Regions from separate parts of the Homo sapiens genome. Here all the other regions are linked to region 6. The links are contacts of gene promoters, found by promoter capture Hi-C in blood cells and fetal thymus (Javierre and others, 2016). All regions are on one chromosome and are shown on one strand. The core of a region is centred on a gene start or on the middle of the fragment in contact, and the rest is flanking DNA. Distances in the headings are between cores, read along the strand shown. Region 1 has its middle 240 kb from the start of MIR1973. Region 2 has its middle 73 kb from the start of MIR1973. Region 3 has its middle 35 kb from the start of MIR1973. Region 4 has its middle 160 kb from the start of MIR1973. Region 5 has its middle 120 kb from the start of MIR1973. Region 6 holds the start of NDST3 (N-deacetylase and N-sulfotransferase 3).

The links. Contacts are between HindIII fragments. The CHiCAGO score rates a contact against its expected background, and 5 or more counts as called.
Region 1: a fragment that was not itself captured here is called in contact with the fragment with the promoter of NDST3 in region 6 in 3 of 17 cell types (megakaryocytes, M0 macrophages and M1 macrophages); the score reaches 9.3 in megakaryocytes.
Region 2: a contact is called between a fragment that was not itself captured here and the fragment with the promoter of NDST3 in region 6, in 1 of 17 cell types (M2 macrophages). The highest score is 7.2, in M2 macrophages.
Region 3: a fragment that was not itself captured here is called in contact with the fragment with the promoter of NDST3 in region 6 in 1 of 17 cell types (M0 macrophages); the score reaches 7.0 in M0 macrophages.
Region 4: a fragment that was not itself captured here is called in contact with the fragment with the promoter of NDST3 in region 6 in 1 of 17 cell types (M2 macrophages); the score reaches 5.6 in M2 macrophages.
Region 5: a fragment that was not itself captured here is called in contact with the fragment with the promoter of NDST3 in region 6 in 1 of 17 cell types (megakaryocytes); the score reaches 11.6 in megakaryocytes.

Annotation. Positions count from the first base shown.
Region 1 is chr4:116,058,125-116,060,824 of GRCh38, reverse strand. No RefSeq gene overlaps it. Among named protein-coding and RNA genes, the nearest start is that of MIR1973, 240 kb to the left of the region's middle. The HindIII fragment of the contact is 2,410 bases long and covers 241-2,650 here.
Region 2 is chr4:116,371,329-116,374,028 of GRCh38, reverse strand. No RefSeq gene overlaps it. Among named protein-coding and RNA genes, the nearest start is that of MIR1973, 73 kb to the right of the region's middle. The HindIII fragment of the contact is 7,978 bases long and covers 1-2,700 here.
Region 3 is chr4:116,333,430-116,336,129 of GRCh38, reverse strand. No RefSeq gene overlaps it. Among named protein-coding and RNA genes, the nearest start is that of MIR1973, 35 kb to the right of the region's middle. The HindIII fragment of the contact is 2,022 bases long and covers 408-2,429 here.
Region 4 is chr4:116,134,227-116,136,926 of GRCh38, reverse strand. No RefSeq gene overlaps it. Among named protein-coding and RNA genes, the nearest start is that of MIR1973, 160 kb to the left of the region's middle. The HindIII fragment of the contact is 1,053 bases long and covers 827-1,879 here.
Region 5 is chr4:116,178,215-116,180,914 of GRCh38, reverse strand. No RefSeq gene overlaps it. Among named protein-coding and RNA genes, the nearest start is that of MIR1973, 120 kb to the left of the region's middle. The HindIII fragment of the contact is 6,350 bases long and covers 1-2,700 here.
Region 6 is chr4:118,033,140-118,035,839 of GRCh38, reverse strand. NDST3 (N-deacetylase and N-sulfotransferase 3) reads right to left here and starts at 1,354. Exons shown (of 14, transcript NM_004784.3): 1 at 1,248-1,354. The HindIII fragment of the contact is 5,573 bases long and covers 1,044-2,700 here.

The DNA of each region.
Region 1 (2,700 bases), core at 196-2,695, 2.0 Mb after region 6:
ATTTTACATTTGGATCATCTAACTCCTAGGAAATTATTATTTTAATGTTTCAACCTAGAAACTCCTGAGGCAAGAAGTCAGGATCAGAGCATTTTTGCTATGATCCTCAACTAATCCTTAGGGTGATTCTAAAAGAATCATTTTAAACATTTTCCAACACTAAAAATTTTATTGACCTCAGCAGATCATCTAAAAATATAACAAGTATGTGCAGGATCATCGTTACTTGGATCATAAGCTTGTTCTTTTTTTGTTTCCCTTAGCCTAGTTGTTTCAGGTTGAATCCTTCAAACATCAGTTGATAATTGACTACTCATTCAGTGGCCAAGGCACAATATTGCTACTTTTATGGTGTGTGTATGTACATGTGTGCGTATGTGTGTGCTTGTTGTATATATGCCTCCGTGTGATCACTGACTTCTGGAATTCACATTAGGATAAATGAATGGTAAAACTAATTGCTTCTAATAGCCCTTCCCTGAACATACCTACTACAGTCTCAGAGTGCCCACCAAATCTCATCTCAAATTATAATCCTGATAATCCCCATGTGTCAAGGGAGAGACCTGATGGGAGCTGATTGGATCATGGGGGTGGTTTCACCTATGCTGTTCTCATGATAGTGAGTGAGTTCTCATGGGATCTGATGGTATTACAAGGGGCTCTTCCCCTTTGGTCTCTCTCTCCTGCCACCATGTAAAAAAGGTGCTCGCCTTCTCTTCACCTTCCACCATGACTGTAAGTTTCCTGAGGCCTCCCCAGTCATAGAAAACTGTGAGTCAATCAAACAGTTTGGAGGGCTCAGAAGAAGACAAGAAGATAAAGGAAACTTTGCAATCTCTTAGAGACTTATTGTATGGATTTGACCAAAGTGCTGATAGTGATGTGGGCAATGAAGTTCAGAATGAGGTGGCCTCAGATGGTAATGAGGAACTTATTGGGAACTGGAGCAAAGGTTACCCTTGCTATGCTTTAGCAAAGGAACTGGTGGTATTCTACCCCTGTCAACAGCGGAAAAGGTCTGTGGAAGTTTAAACCAGAGAGGGATGATTTAAGGTATCCGATGGAAGAAATTCCTAAACAGTAAAGTGTTCAAGAGGTCACCTGGCTTTTTCTAAAAGTATAGAGTCATAAGCATTCACAAAGACATAATTTGAAATGGAAACTTATATTTAAAAGGGAAACAGAGCATAAAGCCTTGGAAAATTTACTGCCAGATCATGTGATGGAAAAGGAAAACCCATTTTCTGGGGAGAAATTCAAGCCAGCTGCAGAAATTTACGTAAGTAAGGAGAAACCAAATGTTTACAGTCAAGATAATGAGAAAAATGTCTCCAGGGTTTTCTTACATCTGCATGGCAGCCCCTCCCATCACATGCTTGGAAGTCTAGGAAAAATGGTTTGGTGGGCTAGGCCCAGGGCCCTGCTGCTCTGTGCAGCCTCAGGATGTGGTGCTCTGGGTCCCAGCTGCTACAGCTCCAGCTATGGCTAAAAGGGGCCAGGGTAAGCTCAGGCCATTGCCCCAGTGTGTGTTAGCCCCAAGTTTCAGTGGCTTCCACATGGTGTTGGGCCTGACAGTATACAGAAGACAAGAGTTGAACTTTGAGAGTCTCTGCCTAGATTTCAGAGGATATATGGAAATTCCTAGGTGTCCAGGCAGAAGTCTGCTCAGGGGTGGAGCTCTCATGGAGGAGCTCTACTAGGCCAAGGCCAAGGAAGAATGTGGGGTTGGAGCCCCCACACAGAGTCCCCACTGGAGCACTGCCTGATGAAAAAAAGGCCACTGTCCTCCAGATCTCAGAATTGTAGATCCACCAACAGCTTGTGCCGTGTGCCTAGAAAAGCCACAGGCACTCACTCCAGCCTGTGAAAGCAGCTGCAGGGGCTGAACCCTGCAGAGCCACAGAGTTGAAGCTGCTCAAGGCGTTGGGAGCCTACCCCTTGCTTCAGCGTGCCCTGGATGTGAAACATGGAGTCGAAGGAGATTATTTTGGATCTTTAAGATTTAATCAGTGTCCTAACAGGCTTTGAATTTGCGTGGGTACTGTAGCTCCGTAGTTTTGGCCAATTTCTCCCATTTGTATTGGGAACATTTACCCAATGCTTGTACCCCCATTGTATCTTGGAAGTAACTAACCTGTTTTTTATTTTACAGGCTCATAGGTGGAAGGGACTTACCTTATCTTAGATGAGATTTTGTACTTAGACTTTTGAGCTAATTCTGGAATTAGATAAGATTTGGGAGACTGTTGGGAAGGCATTATTGGTTTTGAATTGTAAAAAGGATATGAGATTTGTGAGGGGCTATGGGCAGAATGATATGGCTTGGCTTTGTGTCCCCACCCAAATCTCATCTCAAATTGTAATCCTCACATGCTGAGGGAATAACCTGGTGGGAGACAATTGGATCATGGGGATGGTATCCCCCATGCTGTTCTCATGGTAGTGAGTGACTTCTTACCAGATCTGATGGTTTAAAAGTTTCACTTCCCTCTTCACCCGCTCTCTCTCTCCTGCTGCCATGTGAGGAACATGCTTGCTTCCCCTTCACCTTCCACCATGATTATAAGTTTCCTGAGACCTCCCTAGCCCTGTGGAACTGTTTCTTCATAATTTACTTTTATGAAGGTAACTTAACCTTCATAAAGCTTAAGTTAAATTAAACCTTTTTCTTCATAAGTTACCCAGTCTCAGGCAGTT
Region 2 (2,700 bases), core at 162-2,661, 1.7 Mb after region 6:
CAGCAAACATTTTGCCTTTCTATATTTCTAAAATATAATTGTTCTAATTTAGTAATTTTAAGGAATTATTGATATAATTGTTTCTCATTATCCATGGATTCCACATCCATAGATTCAATTAACCATGAATAGAAAGTATTCAAAGAAAAAGTGAATCTGTACTAAACATGTACAGGCTTTTTTTTTTTTGGTCTTTATTCCCTAAACAGTATAACGTAACAACAATTTATATTGCATTTACATTGTGTTAGGTATTATATGTAATCCAGAGATGATTTAAGTATATGAGAGGATGTGCACAAGTTATATGCAAATATTACACAATTTATATAAAGGGACTTGAACATCTGTGGATTTTGGTATCCACAGAAAATCCTTGAACCAATCAATCCCCCGTGGATACCAAGGGATTACTGTACTTAATAAATTATATGTTAATTAAAACTTTGTAGTAACCATTATAAAATATTATTTCTCCAATAGTAAAATATTAGCATATTAAAAATAACCCTACAATGACATCCACCTACCGTATTCAATATATGCTTTGAGGGCATGGAAACTAATTCATTATAAGCATGGAAAGAGAATTTCAATGTCTTATCCATTTGTTTTTCTTCTATTTGTATTTATTATAAATAAGGTTGATGTATTGCTTGCAGCTACTATTAATATTAAATATTTGATGGATTACATTAAGCTAACCCTCTCTGAATCCAATCATTCTTCTTCTGAGCAGTGTAGAAATGACTTACACTTTATTAGAGACAAAACAAAAGACAGGATGTAATTTGAGTGCAATTTTAAGGAAAAAAGTTCTACTTGTGGATCAAAATGTATACCTTTATTTTTCTCTTAAAGATTTTATTGGCTATTTATTGCTGTGCTTGAACTTAATATTTTATATTAATAGATATAGATGTTGAGGGGGCATACATTTAATGGGTATGTCTGTGAGAAGCAGTGGTTAATTATCTAGTTGAAGGTCTGTATATTTATACATGTTTTATCAAAATGTTTTATGTTCTATGAAGCATTTTCTTTCTGATTTCTGAAGAACTATACTCTGAACTACATTTTTAAATGAAACAAATTTAGAAGAGTTTCAAAACAGAAGAAAATGGAATTGGCTATATTATTATCAGACAAAAAAATAAGGATAAATATTTAATAGTGTTTTCAAAACCACTTTCTTGAGGTATGATTGGCATACAAAATACTGTGCATACTTAATAAGTATAACTTTATGAGTTTGGAGTTAATTATACAACCATAAGCCTGCAATCTATTGGAATAAAGCCAGTGATGATAAGAAATCACATCCCTTTTATTAAATCATATGTTAAGAACTTAAAAGTGAATAACAGGGTTTTCAGTTCTGGGCAAAAATTGATATAAATATACTTTAGCTGTCCCATTCAATGAATAAAACCATACAAAATTATTCAAAAGAAATATAGCAGCTATTTGAGAACTTTGAAAGTAGATAGCAGGTAGTAAATCACTAAAGAACACCGTGACTTAAAGCACCATTGAACGTGTAGTGATTTACCATTATTTTCCTCTCTGTATCCCTCAGCCTCAATTTAATGCAGTCAGAAATTTAGAAGTGACAGCAGTGGCACAAACAGACACCATGAAATCTCCTTAAGTTTTTCTTCTCTTTTCTCCCTTCTTTGAAAAAATAAGAAACTCTATATATAATTTTAAAATAAATGAATAAATTAATGAATTAATGAATGAATACATAAATAAATTTTTGGAAGGTGACCTAAAACATTAGATAGATACATAGATAAATATCTCAAAATGAATTGCTTACTTATACCTAAGCAATAAATAGTTAGCAATAGGAATGGGGGAATAATGCATTTAAAATAGTGTAAAAGTGTATAATAAGGACATAAAGGTATTTGATAAGAATGGAATGAGATATATAAGAAAAACACAAAATGACATAAAATTTATAAAATATTTTATGAAAATGTAGAAAGTATGCCATGCTATTAAGTGGAAAATTTAGTATCATCAGAATAAAAATTATTCAAAAATTATCTCTACAAATACTTTTATTTCAACATAATACTTTTAAAATGTTTTCAGCTAAATTAGCTAAAAATAAACATAAAAATGTATCACAGAAAAGGAAAATTTGCTCAGAACATACAAGTCATGGATATCAATTTAACATCATTTTGATGTGAAAACATTAATTCAACAGATACAACAAAGTTAAGAATCCAGAAATAAATACTACAGTAGATTACTCTAAATCGCAAGTTTTTCCATTAACATTACATCATGGGATTTACTTCAGGTTTGTATCTACAGACCACTTTATAATTACATCATAAAATGCCACACTATGGGTGTGTATTTTCATGGCTATAAATATTTCCAGAACACACACCTTGAAGAATTTTGTAGCACTTATGTTTCTACCAAAAGTGCTTTCTTTGAAGAAGTTGGAATCTAGAGCCAGAACTTCTAAATTCAAATCACAGCTCTCCCATATACTTGTTATGCAAACTGGAAGAAATTATTTTATCTATTTGTGCCCCAGTTTTATCATCTATAAATAGTAATGCCTAACTTTTGTTGGGACGCTTCAAGGACTAAATGACTTAATATTTATCAAGCATTTAAGAAAGTGTCTGAAACATAAAAACATTGTGTAAAGGAAAACTACATTAAGAAATG
Region 3 (2,700 bases), core at 169-2,668, 1.7 Mb after region 6:
AATATTTCAAATATAATTTGAATACAGACTCCAATTCTGTGGGTTGTCTCTACTCTGTTGTTTTCCTTGCTGTGTAGAAACTTTTTAGTTTGATGTCATCCCATTTGTCTATTTTTGCTGTGTTTTCTATGCTTTCAGGACCATATAAAGGATTTGGCTTGCATGTTAATACATTTATATGCCTTTTCTCCTGTTAGTCTGTCTATTGTTCGTTCATTTCAATTACCTTCAAAGGGCAGAAGGGAATATAAACAATATATGTCCTGTTAGAAATAAATAAACAAAAATGGAGATAACAGTCTGAATACCCTAAAGTCAACCACCCATAGCCATGTAACCAAAACTTAAGTCATTCTGATTTCCCCAAAACACTAACCTTAAACATAAATAAAACACAAACATAAGCTTTTTTATCCTTATCAGCATGATTAAATGAAATTAAACCAACTAAACCAATCACTTATTAATGAATCAGATTAAACAGCTCTATTTACCTAAAAATATACATGGCAGTCAATCATTAAAAAGTCAAAATACTTTATCCTTTATGATTGGTAAGGTGTGCTATAATTGCTGTAATACAGTGACTTTGTGCCATTTTTTGATATGAAGTCTCCCAGTTTGTGAAGTGTTTTTTTTTTTGTATCCACAATAAACACTTAACATTCTAAGTTGATCATAAAGTGGGTTTTTTATATGCACAATAAACACTTAACATTCTAAGTTGATCTGATTTTATTTTTCACTATATATTATTGTGTATATTTATGCATATGTATACATAAATCTATGCAATTATATATAAAAATAATATCTAAATTAAAATGGTACCTCTTTTCTTTCTGCTTCTTCTAAAAGTTACATATACATGGTTGTCAAGAGGGCTGACAAGCTCTACTCTGTTGGTCCTAGATGACAGTATGATTTTTTGTGTGCTTCATCTTGGTGATGGTTTCCTTGAAATGATGCTCCTTCTATGTACCCAGCTCAAGAATTGGTGCTTAGACCCAAGACAATCAAATTTAAGTGCCTGCTTTGCTATCTTTCGCATTTAGTACCATTGTTTATTATCATTCCAGAAAATCTTCAGATTTTACATTCATTCCAGAGAGACTGAAGTTTTATATCAGGGATTAGCTGATGTCCCTGTGCCAATTTTGTTCTTCCTATGCCATTCCCTACATCCAAATGTAAGCTACCATCCATAGTCTGTAGGATTTTGTTTACTTGCCTTTGTCTCTGGGGGCTTGATTTTGGCCGTTTTGATAAGTGTTAAATCTGGCATGATAAATCTTAAGCAGGAGAATAATATAAACTATTTATGTTTAAAAATTCACCCTAGTTATTACGTGGAGTAAGGCTTGTAGCTTGGCAGCAGGGGGTCAGTTTAAAGCTATGGTAGTACTACAGGTAGGAGTTAATGTCAGCAGTGAAAATAAATGGATTTGAATTATATTTGATGGCAGGAATTGATGAAAGATGATCTATTAAGAGCAACTAGGAGGAATCAAGCGATTATTTGCAGATTTGGTTTTGCAGGTGCTAATTAAATGAGAAGAATATAGGAGAAACTAATTTGTGCAGTAGAGAGGAGACAAATATAATCAATTTTGCTTTTAATATATTAAGACTGAGATGCACATTAATGTAACATTTAGGAATTTGGAAGTGGGAAGTGAATTTCTTAGTATATTGTTTCGGGATGAGTTTAGAGATAGAGACAGGACTTTGATTGTAATTAGCATGTACATAATTGTGCTATGACTGACTTACTATAATATTTTTAATGACAAATGTTATAAAATTACTTGCTTGTTAGAAAAATTATCAAGAATAATTATCAAGAACGTGAATCAGTATGGTTGGGAATTTTTTTTTTTTTTGAGACAGAGTCTTGCTCTGTCACACAGGCTGGCGTGCAATGGCACTATCTCGGCTCACTGCAACCTCCGGGTTCAAGCAATTCTCCTGCCTCAGCCTCCTGAGTAGCTGGGATTACAGGCAGCTGCCACCACGCCTGGCTAATTTTTGCATTTTTAGTAGAGATGGAGTTTCACCATCGTGGCCAGGCTGGTCTTGAACTCCTAACCTCGTGATCCACCCGCCTCAGGAAAATATTTTAAAGCTATTCATCCACATATTTAGAAACAAGAAATTGGATATACATAAAACTAAAGATTCAATATGACAAGCATTATTTTTTCTTATATTTTATTATTTAACATGGTATTCAATGACCACGTTTGAAGAAATAAACTAAAGCAATAATTTTATATGCTTTTAAGCAAGATACTACACAGAAAAATGTGAAAGATTTATTTTAAGACAGGGAGATTTGCAATTATCTTCTATCTCCATATTGCAGCCTAATCTTTAAAAACTACTGAAGAAATGTCCAAAATAACAATGATTAAAAGGCAAAGGAAGCTTCCTCTCTTCCAAAAAACAGCACTATGTCTCAATGGATCACTCCATGCATATTAATTAATCATTTTACTGATTTTGGAGTTCCATTCATAGGTTGTTATAAAACATATTATGTGTAATTCTGCATAAAGTTTTTAAAATTTATGATCCTTTTTCCTTATTTTATACAAATACCTTATATTACCCCTGAATAACATTAGATCTACTTAGCAGAATTATCTTATCCCACATAGTTTAAGGATGATTACCCCAAGAATCAATAGTACCTTATTG
Region 4 (2,700 bases), core at 104-2,603, 1.9 Mb after region 6:
TTGTTTTGTTTTGTTTTGTTTTGTTTTGTTGGGTTTTTTCTTTTTTTTTTTCTTTTTTTTTTTTGAGACGGAGTCTCGCTCTCTCGCCAGGCTGTAGTGCAGTGGCGTGATCTTGGCTCACTGCAACCTCCGCTTCCCGGGTTCAAGCGATTCTCTTGCTTTGGCCTCTCGAGTAGCTGGTACTACAGGCGCCCGCCACCACACCCAGCTAATTTTTGTATTTTTAGTAGAGACAGGGTTTCACCATGTTGGCCAGTATGGTCTCGGTCTCTTGACCTGGTGATTCGTCCGCCTCAGCCTCCCAAAGTGCTGGGATTGCAGGCGTGAGCCACTGCACCAGGCCTTTTGTTTCTTATATTAGCTAGTTTCAATCCATGGGTTGATGAATGAAAGTGCTGAAGTTCAGAATATTTCCAGGGTCCTTGTATAAAAATTAGATGATTGTTTGAAATAAACTTGCCCTGCAATATATATATATATATATCAATCTGAAATAAGATATTTTTTATAAATTTCTTAGAGAGAAAAACAATTTTGTCCTAAATTTCTAAAAGTTTTATCTAAAGTGTTAGGTTACTGTTTGTATCACTTATAAAATATTTTAGCTAATAAATACTTTTTAAAACCATATTTAATTTCTCATAATTATGAAAATATTATATACGTAGACTATTTTTATTTGCTTAATTTATCAAATTGTGTTTATTATTCCAATGCCTTTTTGATAGGCACATTATTTACATTAATACTTCTTAGATAAAATTCTTTTAGGGACAGTACTTGAGTTGGATTAATATATTTCTCTTAAAAGATCCAATATTAAGCTTTCATCTTAAGAATGTTACCTAGGTTGCATAATTTTAAAGAAAGAGGTTTTATCATAGGAAAACACTGATTAATAAAATATAGATCAACATTATTTCTAGTACTATGACTTCAAATTATAAATACATATATTACCATTTTCTGTTAAAAATACTAAATACTAAATACAATAATTTAAAGTTAATGGCAGGACTGAAAACTGTTCTTGCTCAAACACCAGAAAACAAAAATGTATGTAACTTAGAAATGAATACTGCCCACAGGAGGTAGATGAATAACATGGATTATTGGATAAAAGTCAGACAGAGGAAATGAAGTAACAGCAGAATAGTAACCACTATTATCTATTAAGCCATAGTTTATTCTACATTAGAAATGGGTTCATAGAGCAATTTTGCTCAATATGAAAATTCAGTAATGAAAAATCACTGATAGTCTTTAGATTCCAGAATATAAAAGAGACATAGTTTTTCTTTTAGGATATTTTATAATTCAATAAATATTGAAACATTTGAGAATGTGTATATATTTCTAACCCATACAGAGTCATGAAACAAAATAATAAATTTAAGTAATAAAACTTAAAAGTAAAAATTATGATAAAACGTGGGGTTTTCCAGAATTATCTAGTTATAATAAATAGGAAACTAGTACTAACATAAAAATATTAGAAAGGTTATATAATGGTACAGAATCTTAAATGAGAATAAAAAATGATTATGTTATTAATAAAATAGTGGTAAGTTAATATTTTTCGTTTCTGTGCACATACATTTAGAAAAATTGAGTGAAATCAGTCTTAAAGTAAAAATTTCAAAAATATATAGCAGAAAAATTAAACATGTTATTTTATATAAGATAATCTGTAAGGCTTTAAGTAAATGTACCCCCTCCAGAAACCAAACATGGAAGATCCCAATACAGCTCAATGAACTTTTCTATAACAGATGATTCCAGTTATTTAAATTCAGACAGAGCATAGGGACACACTTGGTTCATGAGAAGAGTATACTAGTGATTTTAAATTTATATAATGAAGGAAAACATAGAAGCTTATGGGCCAATATTATTCTTAAAGATCAACCCAAAATACCACATAGGAAAAAAAGATGTCTCACTCACTGTTACCTATCATGATCATATAGAGGTGTCAGAACTTTCTTTTTTACACCGCCAACATTTGGGATTTATGAATTATATTTTAATTAATGAGGTTCATGTGTGTCTGGGCTTCCGGAAAGAGTAAATTCTTATCCATGTTTAGTGATAGAGATTAACCAAAATTAAAACAACAAAACACATGTAAATCTTGCAGTCTTTGCTGTAAACTTTAAAATAGTAACTAAGTTATTTTTCTGTAAATATAGTAAAATCTTAAAATTTCAAACATATTTAAGAAAATAATGCCTAATTATTATTTGGATTTAATATATACCATGTTTATAATAAAAGCTCAGAAGTCATAAAGCAGAGAAAAAAATTCCATTATCTTATATAAAGGGTGATATAAAAATGTACAATGATTCTGAGGATTATTCATACTATTGTAAATTATACATAGGAATATAAATTGAAGTCTGATTTAAAGAATAGGTGATGGTATTTGAATAAATTCCAGATGCTATCTAGTTCAAATGTTGCTAACATTTCCCATCCTCAATAAATGCTAAATTATACTACATGAACTTCTTCTACAACATCCTTGATTGATACTTGTAAGGCTTTTGACTTGCCCAATTCCTGGCTGAACTACCTCATTGGCATCTATCAGATTGTCTTTTCTTTAGCTATCTCCTTAGGTTCTCTCCTTGTACTATATTGTGTATTCCAATATTTAAAAGGAATTATCCTTTTCCAAGTTGGATTTTCAGAGTA
Region 5 (2,700 bases), core at 60-2,559, 1.9 Mb after region 6:
TAGCATCTGGACATGAATAAAAAATGATTTAAAACTATAAGCAGCATGTTTAATTTATTAAGCCTTACTGGCTGCAAATGTTATATTGCATTTCTATTGGCCTTACAAAAACAATTGTAAGATAATGCCTCCAAATTAGTTACAATTTCCAGAATAACATAGCCAACTGAAAAAATAAGCAAACGAAGGAAGTAATATAACCCCTGCAATACTGCACAGTGAAATAGAAAAGGTGAACTGTCTGCCAGAGTCAAATGGGGAGCTAAAATAACAGAGGAATGTTCTACAGAAAAGTCACAGGATTTGGTAAAAGATTGCTTAAGGACTGTTTTAAGCCATGGGCTATCTGTCTCCAGAATCCTGGTAACAGAAAATACTTGACTATAGAATGTAAACAGTCTACTGTTTGGAGTGTGAGAAGAGCAAATGACTGTAACTCTTCGGGAGGAGGAAGACAGGAAAAGCAAGCAATAATATCTATTCATATTCCTAGGCAGTCTTGCTGTTTCTGAAATACTGAGAAAAATGTAGAAGGGGTACAATATGTTCATAAAATATATCTTTATTAATTATACCACCACAAAAGAGAAAGTAGTGATGCATCTTTTACCCCAATCATGAAAAAACAAAACAAAAAACAAGAATATCTGTTGCAAGGGCACCATCTGCTGGAAGATCAGTAAACAAACATAAACCAGCTCAGAGGACAGTGATCTGTTCACAAAATTATAATGCCAATGTCCTCCATCTAATCGAAACTGCAGGCTATTAAAATATATATGTAAATGTTTAATGATCCTCTGAGGAAGAAATAATAACAAGACAGCTCATTGCATAATGAGAAAGTATAATAAAATCTATGAAGTAATGAGATTGAGTCTCTTGTTAGATACTTTAGTTGCAATTTGCTTTCCGAAGAATGATATTTTTACACAAAATAAACATACATACTAATACAACTGACTATAATATTGTATCTAATTGTATCTCAACAAATATGTTTGACAGTCTATACAAACTTTGGTAATTAAATTTCTATTTTGTGGTACAAAATGGGCTGTATACTCTTTCATAACAGATTTTACACATATTTTCTTTGATTATATACATACATATAGAGATAGAGAGAAAAGTAATTTTAAAAAAATGTAATCAGACACAGGATTATATTTCTAGATTTTCATAATTTTATCTCATAAGGTTTTGCAAGCTCTCATTTTTCATTCCTTTCACAGCCTTGCTGACACCCATACATCTAAATTTTGTTTCCTCCTTATATCCAGAATTGAACTATTCAAGGATAATTTTTCCCATAATATTGGCTTTCTAGTGTTTAGATATGCTTCTCCCACCTGTAGTTAAAATAATGGTTCCACTTCCTGTTTTCAACCCTCTGAAATCTTCACTTTTTATTTCCAGATCTGGGTAGTCTTTCCTCCCATGCAAGCCCCTATGTGTCCCTCCTATCACACTCTCTTTCATCTACCACACACTTTACATTCTGACCTATAAAAAAGGAAGGAAATCATTCGTCAGAATTTCCCTTGAGTATAGAAATATTGTATTTATTTATTTGTTTAATTTATTTGTTTTTGAGACAGGATTTTGCTCTTCTTGCCCAGGCTGTGCAATCCAGGTTGTGCAGTGGCATGATCACAGCTCATTGCAGCCTCAGCACAGCTCATTGCAGCCTCGGCCTCATGGGATCAAACGATCCTCCACTACAGCCTCCCAAGTGGCTGGGACCAAATGCATGTGCCACATGCTTAGATATGGTTTTTTTTCTTTCTTTCTTTCTTTTCTTTTTTTTTTTAAGAGACAAAGTCTCCCTATGTTGCACAGGCTACTTTTGAACTGCTGAGCTCAAGGAATCCTCCTGCCTCAGCTTCCTAAATTGCTGGGATTACAGGTGTGAGCCAGCACACCTAGCCATTTTGTGTTTAGAACAAATATTCAATAAGTTCAGTATTTTGGAGGTGAAGACACAGAGAATACGCACCACTAAACATTATTAAAAATGTGCTTTCTAAAACATGTGGACACTGTTGTTTATATGATTATTTGGTTTTGCTGACCAACAATATGAGCCTTTGGATATGCATTATAAGAAACAAGAGCAGAGTTAAACTTATTTTTAAAAAGTATTTCTTTTTAGAGATAGGATCTCACTCTGTTGCCCAGGCTGGAGTGCGGTGGCATAATCACAGCTCACTGCAGCTTCAAACTGCCTGGGCTCAAGCAGTCCTCCCACCTCAGCCTCCCAAGTGGCTGTGACTACAGGCATGTGCCACAATGCCCAGTTGAGTTCAACTTATTTTTAAAGTACAGCAGAGCAAAGCCTGTCTTAGACGCTGTATGACCATGAAGGGATTTTGGAAAAGATAAATAACTACTACTAATTTTGGAATTTATCTGCTGTAGAGAGGGCTATATTAAAACAAACAAACAAACAAACAAAAAACACCTCCTTTCTCTTTGCTATGTAATCTATCTTTCTTTCTTTCTTTTTTTTTTTTTTTTTGAGACGGAGTCCGCTCTGTTGCCCAGGCTTGAGTGCAGTGGCGTGATTTCAGCTCACTGCAAGCTCCACCTCCCAGGTTACGCCATTCTCCTGCCTCAGCCTCCTGAGTAGCTGGGACTACAGGCGCCTGCCACCTCGCCTGGCTAATTATTTTTTGTATTTTTAGTAGCGACGGGGTT
Region 6 (2,700 bases), core at 105-2,604:
AAAATTAACTCATGTGACAAGCTCAAAATTAACATTATTTACACAAAGAAACAAATCTTCTGTTTTACCATCAAGATGATAAAGAAAAATGATAACAAAATTAGAAATGGTAGATACTGTGTTAACCAGAGAAAGAAAAAAAAGAGCTTATCTTAGGCAAGCCTCTTTATATGTTCAGTACTATTTTAAAAAGGAGCCTCCTTCAAACTTATATTTGAAATCTCCATCTTAAATATAATATTGATAGGAAGGTATGGATGAAGAAAAAGGGAAAAAAATTCCCTTCAGCTGAATATCGGATATTCTAGAGTTTCTCTGCCATATCATCCTGCTCTCTGGTGGTGAACAGCATTGCTCAGTAGTTGATAACATGAAATTTTCTAAGGGCAAAAAAAAAAAACAAAAAAAAAGTGTGTGTCCCAGATCAGTTGCACACATCTCAATATTTGATTTGTATTTTAATTTAATACAAATGTATTAAGAATGTAGCTGTTTGCATTGTCTAGAAGGGTTTTCTTCTAAACTCTTCCAGATTACATGTTGCTATATTTCAATATGTTTATAAAGAATATAGATACTAATACATTTTCGACATTAAATAACTCTGATGCTTAAACAGTATCCAGCTATTAGAAAAACTATTTGAAAAAGGATCTGAGTAAACCCCTTAAAGATGTAACTTTGCTTTTACCTGCCCCCACAAAATGGATATATTAAATAGAAGATATATCTGTTTTCTTTAAATTTAAAGTTTCTGTATTTGATACCTAGATTGATTCTTTCCATTTCCATTTAATTTTATTAATTGTATAGTTTTAAATAATGTCTATAAACTGCATCAAATAGAAAGCCTTTTGAGGATCATTACTGTGTAGATAGGCAGGTAGTTTAAAGTCTCTGATATTCCTTACAAAATTCTGTCAAGGCAACAGACATGTGTTCTGTTAAACAGATCTACTTCAGAATCATTATAAGTTGGTGAATATCTTAAACAATTACAAGAGGTCATTTCTTTAGTACCATAATCTTATGAAAGGGAAGCTTTAAAATCATCCCTGAATGAGACGGTCCTTTGTTTCACTTAATTTAATCAAAATACTCTATATTTCTTCTTCAAGAATAAAATGAAGCACTTGTTCAATCTTGAAATTTTTAGATTATTTGAAAGCAAAGTTGTTATCTCTTAAAAGCCCCTACATTTATGAGTGAGGCATTAATGCACAGTATAAATAAATAAATACACTTACCTGGAATTAAAGTTCAGAGCTGAAAATGCTTGAGAAAGTTGCAATAGATGGAAAAGAAACGGAAACAGTACCACTCGTTACCATCGGCTCAGGCTTTTTGACTTTACAAGTGGTAGCAACACCAGTCCTGGCCCAGTACTCTCATGTTATGTAACATCTTATTAATATTAGCCATCAAACTGCTACCAAGCTGGTGAGGCACTAGAGGGCAAGAGTGTCACATGCAAGACCCGTCGCCAAGGGACCGGCTTTGGTACCACTTCGGGGGAAGACAGATGCTAACTAAGCTGATGAATAACAGGATGCCCGAATACAACAGCAAACTTGTAACGTTCCTCAAAGAATATTTTACATGTCAATTTTCTGACTAGCGGAAGAGTTAACAGGTTAATAAATATGAGCAAGCAAATAACCACACCATGAAAAACTTTTAGGATTATATTTACAAACCCACAGTCACTCAAGAGGCTGTTTGTTTTTTTCTTTCCATTGTCTAAATAAACTTATTTAAAACAGGAGAAAAAAGCTGGTTAAATAAAACGAGTGTCGGTTTCAGGACTCCCTCATTCCAAGCCGCGAGAAACTTGTCTGGTCGAGATGCCGCCTCTGGAGTCCGCATTCCAAGGCGCCCGGATCGGGTTTCTGGGCGAGGAGACCGGCCCCGTCCTCCATGGAGATTACCTGGGGCTGCAGCCGTCCGCGGGCTCCTCCTTCCCTCGGGTCTTCGGCCTCAGCCGCTCCCCAGGGCCCCTCGTCCGGGTGGCGCTTGGGTGCTACGCGGTGCCCGGGGTCCGGCGGGGGCGACAAGCGGGCGACCTCTCCCCTCCGCGCCCGGGATCTGCGCGGACACAGCTGGTGGCGACTTCGGCCGCTCAGGCTGCGGCTGCGGGGCGAGCGCAGCGGGTGCGCCGGGGACTCCTGCGCTGGAGAACCACGGCCCTGGGACCCGCCCGGCCGCGCCTCCGCCGCCCTCGCCACCGCCTCCCGGGCGGGAGCCGCCGCCTCCCAGCTCCCGGCCCGCGCGCGCCCGCCCCGGGGAAGGGGAGGGAGCGGGAGCTGAGGACGGGAGCCGCCTCCATCGACCGGGCTCCCGCCCGGACCGGCCCTGAGGATCTGGCTGCCCGGGCCTCGACAAGGAGACCCCGGGGGTTCCGCCCCGGCCTGCCAGTTCCGACCGCCCCTCCCGGCGGGTTGGCGGCGGCCGCCAAGGATGAAACGTCTTGTGCGGCCAGGGAAAGGGGTGCGAGTCCCCGAGGCGACGCTGGAAGGGTGGGGCGCACCCGCGCGGTCCCTTCCTGTGGTGCTCCTGCCGTTGGCACTGGACCAGGGCGGCTGCGAGGCTGCAAGAGTTTCCTCTGTTCGCCAGTTTTTTTCAAATGCCATGTGTTTCAGCTCCTGAAGACAAGTGGAAGGCCAGCAACTGAAGAGATATTTTGGATTCAAGGTGTGAGGT